Regions from separate parts of the Homo sapiens genome. Here region 2 is linked to region 1. Evidence: promoter capture Hi-C in human tissues and cell types (Jung and others, 2019). All regions are on one chromosome and are shown on one strand. The core of a region is centred on a gene start or on the middle of the fragment in contact, and the rest is flanking DNA. Distances in the headings are between cores, read along the strand shown.

The links. Contacts are between HindIII fragments. The study calls those that stand out against the background at their distance.
Region 2: a contact is called between a fragment that was not itself captured here and the fragment with the promoter of CRYBB2 in region 1, in 1 of the 25 tissues and cell types used here (dorsolateral prefrontal cortex).

The regions. Positions count from the first base shown.
Region 1 is chr22:25,216,832-25,222,057 of GRCh38, forward strand. It overlaps CRYBB2 (crystallin beta B2), which reads left to right and starts at 2,808. Exons shown (of 6, transcript NM_000496.3): 1 at 2,808-2,835; 2 at 4,573-4,652. The coding sequence starts at 4,599. The HindIII fragment of the contact is 11,576 bases long and covers 1-5,226 here.
Region 2 is chr22:26,289,256-26,294,481 of GRCh38, forward strand. SEZ6L (seizure related 6 homolog like) reads left to right here. Exons shown (of 17, transcript NM_021115.5): 2 at 3,151-3,891; 3 at 5,037-5,170. Among named protein-coding and RNA genes, the nearest start is that of SEZ6L-AS1, 45 kb to the left of the region's middle. The HindIII fragment of the contact is 7,707 bases long and covers 1-5,226 here.

The DNA.
Region 1 (5,226 bases), core at 1,558-4,057:
ATGAATTTGCCTACCCTAGGTAACTTATGTAAGTGGAATCATACAATATTTGTCCTTTTGTGTCTGGTTTATTTCACTTTGCATAACATTTTCAAACCTCATCATGTTGGAGTCAGAATTTCCTTTCTTTTTAAGGCTGAATAATATTCCATTGTATGGATAGACCACATAGTGTTTATCCATTCATCCGTTGATGGACATTTGGGTGGTTTCCATCTTTCGGCTATTGTGAATAATGCTGCTATGAACATGGGTGTGTAAATATCTCTTCAATTCCCTGCTTTCAATTCTTTGGGGCACGTGCACAGAAGTGGAATGGCTGGCTCATATGGTAATTCTATGTTGGATTTTTTTTTTTTTTTTGAGACAGCCACACTGTTTTCCGTAGTGGCAACACCATTTTACATTCCCAATTTCTGTTGTTTTTAAGCCACTTAGTTTGTGACACTTTATTACAGCAGCCCTGGGATTTATTTTATGTTATTTATTTATTTATTTTCTTTGAGACAGAGTTTTGCTCTTGTTGCCTAGGTTGGAGTGCAATGCCATGATCTTGGCTCACTGCATCCTCTGCCTCGTGGGTTCAAGTGATTCTCCTGCCTCAGCCTCCCGAGTAGCTGGGATTACAGGCATGTGCCACCATGCCCGGCTAATTTTGTATTTTTAGTAGAGACGGGGTTTCTCCATGTTGCTCAGGCAGGTCTCGAGCTCCCAACCTCAGGTGATCCGCCTGGCTTGGCTTCCCAAAGTGCTGGGATTACAGGCGTGAGCCGCTGTGCCCGGCCAGCCCTGGGATTTTAAAACAAGTACCTACTATGCGTCAGGCACTGGGCTCTGGAGATACCATGGTAAACCAGGGGGACAACTTCTTTGCTTTTGTGGTGCTTATCTTCTCATTGGAAAGACAGAAAATAAATGAGTAACAGAATGTTGGGTAGTGATGAGTGCTGCAAAAGGAAAAGCCCAGCTAGGGGGCTGGGGCATGTGTGTGTAGTGTGTGTGCATGCGTGTGCATGCATATGTGCATTAAGAAAATGAGAGACAGGGGAAAGCAGGTATACTTGACCCAGTCTCCAAGCCTCAGATTGGATCAAGACACAGCCTGGGCTGCAAGGAAGGTGTGTGCACTAAAGAAACATGAGTAAAGGCCGGGCGCGGTGGCTCACGCCTGTAATCCCAGCACTTTGGGAGGCCGAGACGGGCGGATAATGAGGTCAGGAGATCGAGACCATCCTGGCTAACACAGTGAAACACCGTCTCTACTAAAAATACAAAAAATTAGCCGGGCGTGTTGGCGGGCGCCTGTAGTCCCAGCTACTAGGGAGGCTGAAGGAGGAGAATGGTGTGAACACGGGAGGCAGAGCTTGCAGTGAGCTGAGATCGTGCCACTGCACTCCAGCCTGGGCGACAGAGCGAGACTCCATCTCAAAAAAAAAAAAAATAGAAAAGAAATGTGAGTAAAGGCTGGGCACCCATGTGGCAGCGATGGGGCCAGTGGTAGGGATCTAAGAGCAACTCACTCTAGGACAGTGGTTAAGAAACAGGCCGGGTGCAGTGGCTCATGCCTGGAATCCCAGCACTTTAGGAGGCCAAGGTGGATGGATTGCCTGAGCTCAGGAGTTTGAGACCACCCTGGGCAACATGTCAAAACCCTGTCTCTAACAAGATACAGCAAAAAAAAGAATTTAGCTGGACCTGGTGGCGCACACCTGTAGTCCCAGCTACTGGTGAGGCTGAGGCAGGAGAATCGCTTGAACCTGGGAGGCAGAGGTTGCAGTGAGCCGAGATCACACCACTGCACTCCAGCCTGGGTGACAGAGTGAGATTCCATCTCAAAAGAAAGAAAGAGAAAGAAAGAAAGAGAGAGAGAGAGGGGGAGAGAGAGAGAGAGAGAGAGAGAGAGGGGAGAGAGAGAGAGAGAGAGAGAGAGAGAGAGAGAGAGAGAGAGAAGAAAGAAAGAAAGAAAGAAAGAAAGAAAGAAAGAAAGAAAGAAAGAAAGAAAGAAAGAGAAAGAAAGAAAGAAAGAAAAGAAAGAGAAACAGCCAGGGGCCTTGAGAATAAAATGCACTCTCCATAATTGGCCTCCCTGGCCCTGCAACATCAGGCCCTGCCCACCTTGGCCACCTGGCACAGGCCCTATTTGTCACATGTCATGCTTTAGCTTTGTTAACCTGTTTTCAGGTCTTCTTGAAATACACCATGCTGGTTCCTTGTATATGGACCCTTTCTGCTTGGAACTGTCCCCCCACCCTGTTCCCAGGCTTCCTCTTCTCCATCCCTGAGGGATGCGCTACCTCCCAGGAGCTTTTCTGAATGGCCTGGGCTGGCGTAGGTCCTCTTCCTGACACTCCCCTGGAACAGAGATTGTCACCAAGTGGATGCCCAACAAATATTTGTTGAATGAATAAATGGGTAGATGAATGAAGCCCAGACTCTGCCAAACCACCCTTCTTTACTTGTTCTTCCCCAGGCCCACTGAGATGTTCCTCTGTCTGCCATGCCTCACGGCCTGACTGACCGTACCAGTGAACCCAGCGTACCCCTGGCCCTGGCAGCCGGACGGCTGATGCATGCAAAGCGGGCATCTCCTTGCCCAGCCGCCTGACCGCCCTGGCGCGGCCGAATCTGAAAGCTAATGACATTATTGTGCAGAGACACAATGTCTGTGGGCATTTGCTGACCCGAGCTTTGGTGAGAGCTTAATCCAGCATTCTCACCCTGCTTTTCGCAGGAGCACAGCGGTCACTCATCTTGGCACCGGCACTTCTGGGGAAGGTATAAATGCCACCTCCCGCTGGCCGAGCTTCACGGCACTCGCAGGGGCTGGTGTCACTGGTAAGATTGCCTCTCTTGCTTGTCTTCCCTTCTTTCTCTCATCCTCACCCCTGTCCGCAAGCATGGGAGCACCCAGATTCTGACAAGTGACTTTGGGCAGAGACTTCAATGCTGTTAGCCTCAGTTTTCTTTTCTGGTAACTGGGAAGGGGGTTAAAAAGCCTTCTTTATTGTAAGGATTCAAGAGAAGTTAGGGGATCATCCAGCACAGTGCCTGGCACACAGTGGGCATTGGGGCAATGTTCTTTATTATTAATATTAAACAGACTATCAGCATCCTTGTTTCGCCAGTCGCTGAGGAGGAGAATGTAACTGAGGGTTTTGCAAGAATCAAACCAGTGACAGTTCAGCATTGTTTCTAGGTGGGTGAGTCAGTTTTCCTCCACATCTGCAATTAGGGGGCACCCACTCTGTGCCTAGCCTCTGGGAGTGCTAGGGGATAGGATGCAGCCACAGGTATGTGACAGGTCCCAGCAACAGGTGATTTCAATGCCACTAAAGCATGGTAGAAATGACTCTAATAATGCCACAATTGCTGCCATTTGCTGCATGCTGAGTGTGTTCTGGGACCACGGCCAAGTGCTTCCGGTTTTATACATTACATAATTGAATCCTCACAACCTGTTCACAGGTATTATTAGACATCATTACTGTCCCCATTTTATAGAACAGGAAGTTGAGGCATAGGGAGAGGATGAGACCTGCCCAGAGTCTCAATTCTGGCAGGCAGCAGAGACTGCTCCTGAACTGGACCAACTGAGCTTCTTCAGTCTGTGAACACTCAGGACTGGGAAGTGATATGGCAGGACCTCAGGCACTCTGACAAGCCCAGAGGGCTGGTTTCTTGCGGGAGAGCAGTAGATTTGGCTGCCAAGGTGCTTAACTGCATTTCTTCCTCCTGGGAAACATCCAGTATTGGCCTTTCATGTGGAAGGGGCTTCTGGAAGCTGGCGTTATCTCTGAAGAGGGAGGCCAGGCTTCCTCTCTTACCCCTGGGGAAACACAGCCTGGTTTGACCACCCCTTCTGCAGGAAGGGGGAAGAGGCTGACAATTTTCCAGGCTTTTCTGATGTTCTCACTAGCTAAGGCAGGTCTACCCTGCTGCCTGCCACAGTGCCTGGATTTCTACCGTCGCACCCATTTCTTCTCTTTCTTGTAATGTGGGTTCTGTATCAGATGATTTCACTAATGGGGGAGTAAAACCAGTGGCAGAGAAGAGAAATCTAGGTACCAGGATGGGGAGAGGAGTCCCAGGGAGAGGGTGGGAGAAGGAGCAGGGGAACAGGGAACTTTGTGAGTTCCTAAACTGGGCACCACCACACCACCAAATACAGCCAATGCATAGGTTTTGTTTGTTCCACACAATTTTATTTAAGAAATTACTGCATAAAGGCAGAAGTTCTGGGATTGACCATTCTATATTCTGTGTGGTATCCATTGTCTGGGGTTGAGTGTTGGGAACCCACTTTGGACCTCATTTAAGCTCTAGTTTATTACTGCTCTCTTTCTTTGAGTAGACCTCGTTTTTCCCTCCTCCTGCAGCTGGCCTGGATAGAAATAAATGAAGCTAAGGACAGAAGTTGAAGTAGCTGCTTACGGACCCCACAGCTCTGGGACAGTCTGAAACCAGGAGAAAAAGAGAATGTTTGGGGCCAGAGGGGAGTGGTCTCAAGGCCCCACAGAGTGAAAAAGCCAGTGGCCCCTCCAGGTCCTCACTGCTGCTTCCCATGTCTTCCAGGTCATTCCTGCACAGGACAGTCCACCATGGCCTCAGATCACCAGACCCAGGCGGGCAAGCCACAGTCCCTCAACCCCAAGGTGGGTACCTCTCAGAGGAGGGGGCATGCAATGCTCCTCCCCCAGACTTAGTTGCCCTTCTGTAAAATGGGCTTGGCATCTTTCTTCATGGGTACCCCCTCTCGACCCCTGCCCCTCTCTGGGACTCAGTCTCCTCTACCCACACAGTTGGAGCTGATACTGAAAGTCCCTCCCCAGCCCATAGCTGGCATGCTGGGATTCCCAGTACCAGCCTCTGGCTTTGGAGACTTCAGTTTCTCTCTCCCTTACCTGTTTTGCCACACCCTATTGTCTACAGGGCTCCCTGAAACTGGAGCAGACCCTCATTCTCAGTCAGAGATGGGATTAGTAGATGGAAGGTGGGTGTGAGTCCTGGCTCTGCACCTGCTGTGTGATCCGGGCCAATTATTTGATCCCTCTGAGCCTCAGTTCCATCTCTATAAAAGGAGGAGTCAGATTTATTGCACAGGGAAGTTGTGAGAGCCAAAGAAACCAGGCTCAGCCTAACACCCGGCCTGGGGTGCGCATCCACCTAACACCAGCAAATAATGCCGCCTTTGATTTCTCATCCACCTGTCCACCCAAGGGCGGCAGG
Region 2 (5,226 bases), core at 2,024-4,523, 1.1 Mb after region 1:
TGCTCTTTTTGTCCCTATGCCCTCTTTTCACTCCACAGTCTACAAAGATGGTCAACATCAATCATTTTAGAAAAGCGACAGTGAGCATAAAAGCCATTGTTTTGAGGCAGATCCACGTCTGGTCTAATCCAACAAGGTAGATAGAATACCTCCATTATACAAAAGAGGCTGCTGAACCTCAGCAAGGTTCAAGGACTTGCCCAGACTCACTCAGCTCATAACTGTAACAGGCAGGATTTGAACCCTAACTCTGAAGCTTCACTACTCCCCACCTTGGACTAGGAAATCTGCCTGATGCCTGAATGACCTTGACCTGCCCTCATGCCATCCACTCACGCTGCTCCCAGATACCCATTCCTGGCCCAGCATCACTGGCGGCCTGGAAGGAACACTGGCTGGTAATCAATGTTACACAACAGGAACATTTGTTGATGCCAGTTGCAAACTGTTGCAGTCTATATAGATTAAGCCACCGCCGCCAACTCCATGAAAGTAAATGAGCCTCTCCAACGACTGCTGAAATAAATTTAAATGACAGCACTGGAGGGCCTGGAGACTGTAGCTGAGTGAGTGTCTCCCTGCAGAAAATCGACAAGGACAGCTATCAGTCCGAGGGCCTTTGTCCCCGTGATGTAATTCCTCTCTATCTAGACATCTTCACGGGGATGTTCTGATTGCTCCAGTTTCCTGCCGAGGGGCTGTGATTGCAATGACAAGAGTAAAAACCATGACGGCAGCTGGCATTTGCTAAGCACTCACTACGGGTGAGGCGCTGTCCTAAGTGCTTTGCATACATCAACTCGCTGAATGATGGCAACCCCAGGAAATAGGAAATAATAGCCCCATTTGACAGCTGAGGGAACTGAGGCTTGGAGAGTGAAGTCATTAACCAGCAATTGGCAGAACTGGGTCTTTAAAAAGCAAACAAAGCTGGTTTCCAGCACCATTCTGCCAGACAGCTGCCTGGGCCAGCCCTTCTTTAAAATGACTATTGGGCCGGGCGCGGTGGCTCACGCCTGTAATCCCAGCACTTTGGGAGGCCGAGGCGGGTGGATCACGAGGTCAGGAGATCGAGACCATCCTGGCTAACATGGTGAAACCCTGTCTCTACTAAAAAATACAAAAAATTAGCTGGGCATGGTGGCACGCACCTGTGGTCCCAGCTGCTCAGGAGGCTGAGGCAGGAGAATGGCGTGAACCCGGGAGGCGGAGCTTGCAGTGAGCCGAGATCGCGCCACTGCACTCCAGCCTGGGCGACAGAGTGAGACTCCGTCTCAAAAAAATAAATAAAATAAAATAAAATAAAATGACTAAATGGTTTTACCTTCCAGACAAAAATAAATCGCAAGGATGGGGACCAAGGTGGGAGGATCACTTGATCCCAGGAGTTTGCAACCAGCCATAGTGAGATCCGTCTCAAGAAAAAACAAAATGAATTACAAGAAGTTAGCAAGGTATACAAGGCCCTCCAGGGCCTGGCCCCTGCCTCCCTACCTTACCAGCTTTATCCCCCGTACTCTCCACTTGTGCTCCAAAACCCCTTGCAATTCTTTTGTGCCCACCTCTGCCCAGCCTCCAAGCCTCCATGGGTCTTCACACAGTCCTCTGTTCTGAATCTGCCTCGTGACTCTGAATCCTAAAACATTTCTGTGTCTCCCACAAGGTCACTCTTACATTCCTTCAGTTTAAAATGTACCTCCCCCAACCCTGCTTTTACACTGTTGGTGGGAATGTAAATTAATTCAACCATTGTGGAAGATGGTGCTGAGATTCCTCAAAGATCTGGAACCAGAAATAGCATTTGACTCAGCAATCCCATTACTGGGTCCCATTACATATATACCCAAAGGAATATAAATCATTCTGTTACAAAGATACATGCATGCACATGTTCATTGCTGCACTATTCACAATAGCAAAGACGTGGAATCAACCTAATGCCCATCAATGATAGACTGGATAAAGAAAATGTGGTACATGTACACCATGGAATACTATGCAGCCATAAAGACAAACAAAATCATGTCCTTTGCAGGGACATAGATGGAGCTGGAAGACATTATCCCTAGCAAACTAAGGCAGGAACAGAAAACCAAACACCACATGTTCTCACTTATAAGTGGGAGTTGAACAATGAGAACACATGGACACAGGGAGGGGAGTAACACACACTGGGGCCTGTTGCGGGGTGGAGTTGGGGGAGGGGAGAGCATTAGGAAAAATAGGTAATGCATGCTGGGCTTAATACCTAGCGTGGGTTGATAGGTGCAGCAAACCACCATGGCACATGTTTACCTACATAACAAACCTGCACATCCTGCACATAGGCCCCAGAACTTAAAATTAAAATTTAAATTTAAAAAAACTCTCCTCCCCCATCCCCCAAGCCCAGCCAGAGCACACAGCTTAGAAAAGAGAGTGTGGCCTGGTGTCCATCCCCACTCATCCTCTTAGCTGCATGTCTTTGTACAGGGAACAATCTGCCCAACTGTACATGGCATGCCTGTCCTGCAGACGGGGTTAGGGCCCGTCCTCTCTGCTCTCTTAGCACACAAGCTTTTCTCTTTCCAAGCATTCATCATATCAAATATGATTGTGTCTACTTTCCCATCCCCCTTCCCAGTACATATACAACCAGGCAGTGAGGCCCCTGTGCTTTTTGTTTCTATACTCCTAATGCTTAGCTCAGTCCTGGCATGATCAAGCCCAAGTCTTCAGGAAAAGGAAGGAAGGAAGGAAGGAAGGAAGGAAGGAAGGAAGGAAGGAAGGAAGGAAGGAAGGATGGATGGAAGGAAAGAAGGAAGGAAATGAAGGAAGAAAATGAAGGAGGAAGGAAGAAAGAAAAAAATGGAAGGGGAAAGGAAGGAGGGAGGGAGGAAAGAAAGAAAGAAAGGAAGGAAGGAAGGAAGGAGGAAGGAAAGAAGGAAGGAGGGAGGGTGGGAGGAAAAGAAGGAAGAAAAGAGAAAGAGGGAGAGAGGGAAGGAGGAGAAAAAAGAAAGGAAGGGAGGGAGGGAGAAAGGAGAAGTTGGTTTAGAGGCCAGCCGGACGAGCTTTGGGCACCGCCCTTAGGAGGGCCACCCTCAGAGTCTGACAGCAGGTGAAGGTCCTAAATCTCCCCAAACTAACTGGTGTCTTTTCTCCTCTTCCAAGATGCTCTTCCCGAGGGAGATGCTAGCCCTTTGGGTCCTTACCTCCTGCCCTCAGGAGCCCCGGAGAGAGGCAGTCCTGGCAAAGAGCACCCTGAAGAGAGAGTGGTAACAGCGCCCCCCAGTTCCTCACAGTCGGCGGAAGTGCTGGGCGAGCTGGTGCTGGATGGGACCGCACCCTCTGCACATCACGACATCCCAGCCCTGTCACCGCTGCTTCCAGAGGAGGCCCGCCCCAAGCACGCCTTGCCCCCCAAGAAGAAACTGCCTTCGCTCAAGCAGGTGAACTCTGCCAGGAAGCAGCTGAGGCCCAAGGCCACCTCCGCAGCCACTGTCCAAAGGGCAGGGTCCCAGCCAGCGTCCCAGGGCCTAGATCTCCTCTCCTCCTCCACGGAGAAGCCTGGCCCACCGGGGGACCCGGACCCCATCGTGGCCTCCGAGGAGGCATCAGAAGTGCCCCTTTGGCTGGACCGAAAGGAGAGTGCGGTCCCTACAACACCCGCACCCCTGCAAATCTCCCCCTTCACTTCGCAGCCCTATGTGGCCCACACACTCCCCCAGAGGCCAGAACCCGGGGAGCCTGGGCCTGACATGGCCCAGGAGGCCCCCCAGGAGGACACCAGCCCCATGGCCCTGATGGACAAAGGTGAGAATGAGCTGACTGGGTCAGCCTCAGAGGAGAGCCAGGAGACCACTACCTCCACCATTATCACCACCACGGTCATCACCACCGAGCAGGCACCAGGTATGCAGCCCCCAACTCCTGAAGCCATCCTGAAACAGCCATGAGGCACTCACTATGTTCAGGGCATGTGGGTAGAGGAATCTCAAGAAGCCCCGGCCCCACCATCAGTTACCGTCCATTGAGCACTGACTATGAGCTTCGCCCTGTGGCTCAGAATTAATAGCCTCATTTCATTTGTTTGTTGTTTTGGGGGGTTGTTTTAGCAAAGGGGTCTTGATCTTTCGCCCAGGCTGGAGTGCCATGGCACGATCATAGCTCACTGCAGCCTCAAACTCCTGTGCTCAAGTGATCCTCTTGCCTCAGCCTCTTGAGTAGCTGGGACTACAAGCATGCACTATGATGTCCAGCTAATTTTTTTGTTTTTTGTAGAAAGGGGGTCTTGCTTATTGTCCAGGCTGGGGAACTCCTGGGCTCAAGCAATCCTCCCACCTCAGCCTCCCAAAGCACTGGGATTACAGGCATGAGCCAGGACACTCAGCCAACATCCCCATTTTAAAGATGAGACAACTGAAACCCTGAGACCCCCAAGCAACCTGCCAAAGGTCACACAGCTAATGAGCAAGATTCAAAACCTTTTCATCTTGGAACGGAATTCTTCATTTAACCTGCTTCAAAGCCACTAGCCTTTTCAAAGCACATTTGCTTTTAGCATTACATGTATTTTCTAGACTTGATAAAATGCTCTTCTGTGTTCCAGTCTTCTCTACCATCTTTAAAATGGGAGAAGGACCCCCAATTGTCAAGCATACATGGATTTTGGACAAGTGCAATGTGGCCACCCTTCAAAGCACGTGAGCTCTGGGTCCAAATCCTGCTTGCTGTTTGAGCTCGGCCCCTCTCTGAGCTTTTGTTTACTTCCCTCTAAACTGGGGATGAAATATTATCAGTCCCTATGAGAATAAGTGGGGTCACCCCTGTTGACTAGCTAAAATGGTGCCTAGCAGGATATAGTAAGTGATCATTCTGTGTCAATTATTGCTATTTTTATTATCATGTCAATTCTGGAGCTGAGGAATTAACAGCAGAAGGACAGATGGGAACAGCAAAATGCAGGTTCCCCTAAAGCCCCCATTCCACCCCACAGCCCATGGTTGAGCTTACATCCAAGTTGTCTTTGGTGTCCTAATTAAAGTCCTTCCTTCCAGCTCTCTGCAGTGTGAGCTTCTCCAATCCTGAGGGGTACATTGACTCCAGCGACTACCCACTGCTGCCCCTCAACAACTTTCTGGAGTGCACATACAACGTGACAGTCTACACTGGCTATGGGGTGGAGCTCCAGGTAACCCCAGGAGAGTACCTCACAGAGGCTGCCTCGTCTAGCAGGAAGTCTCAGGA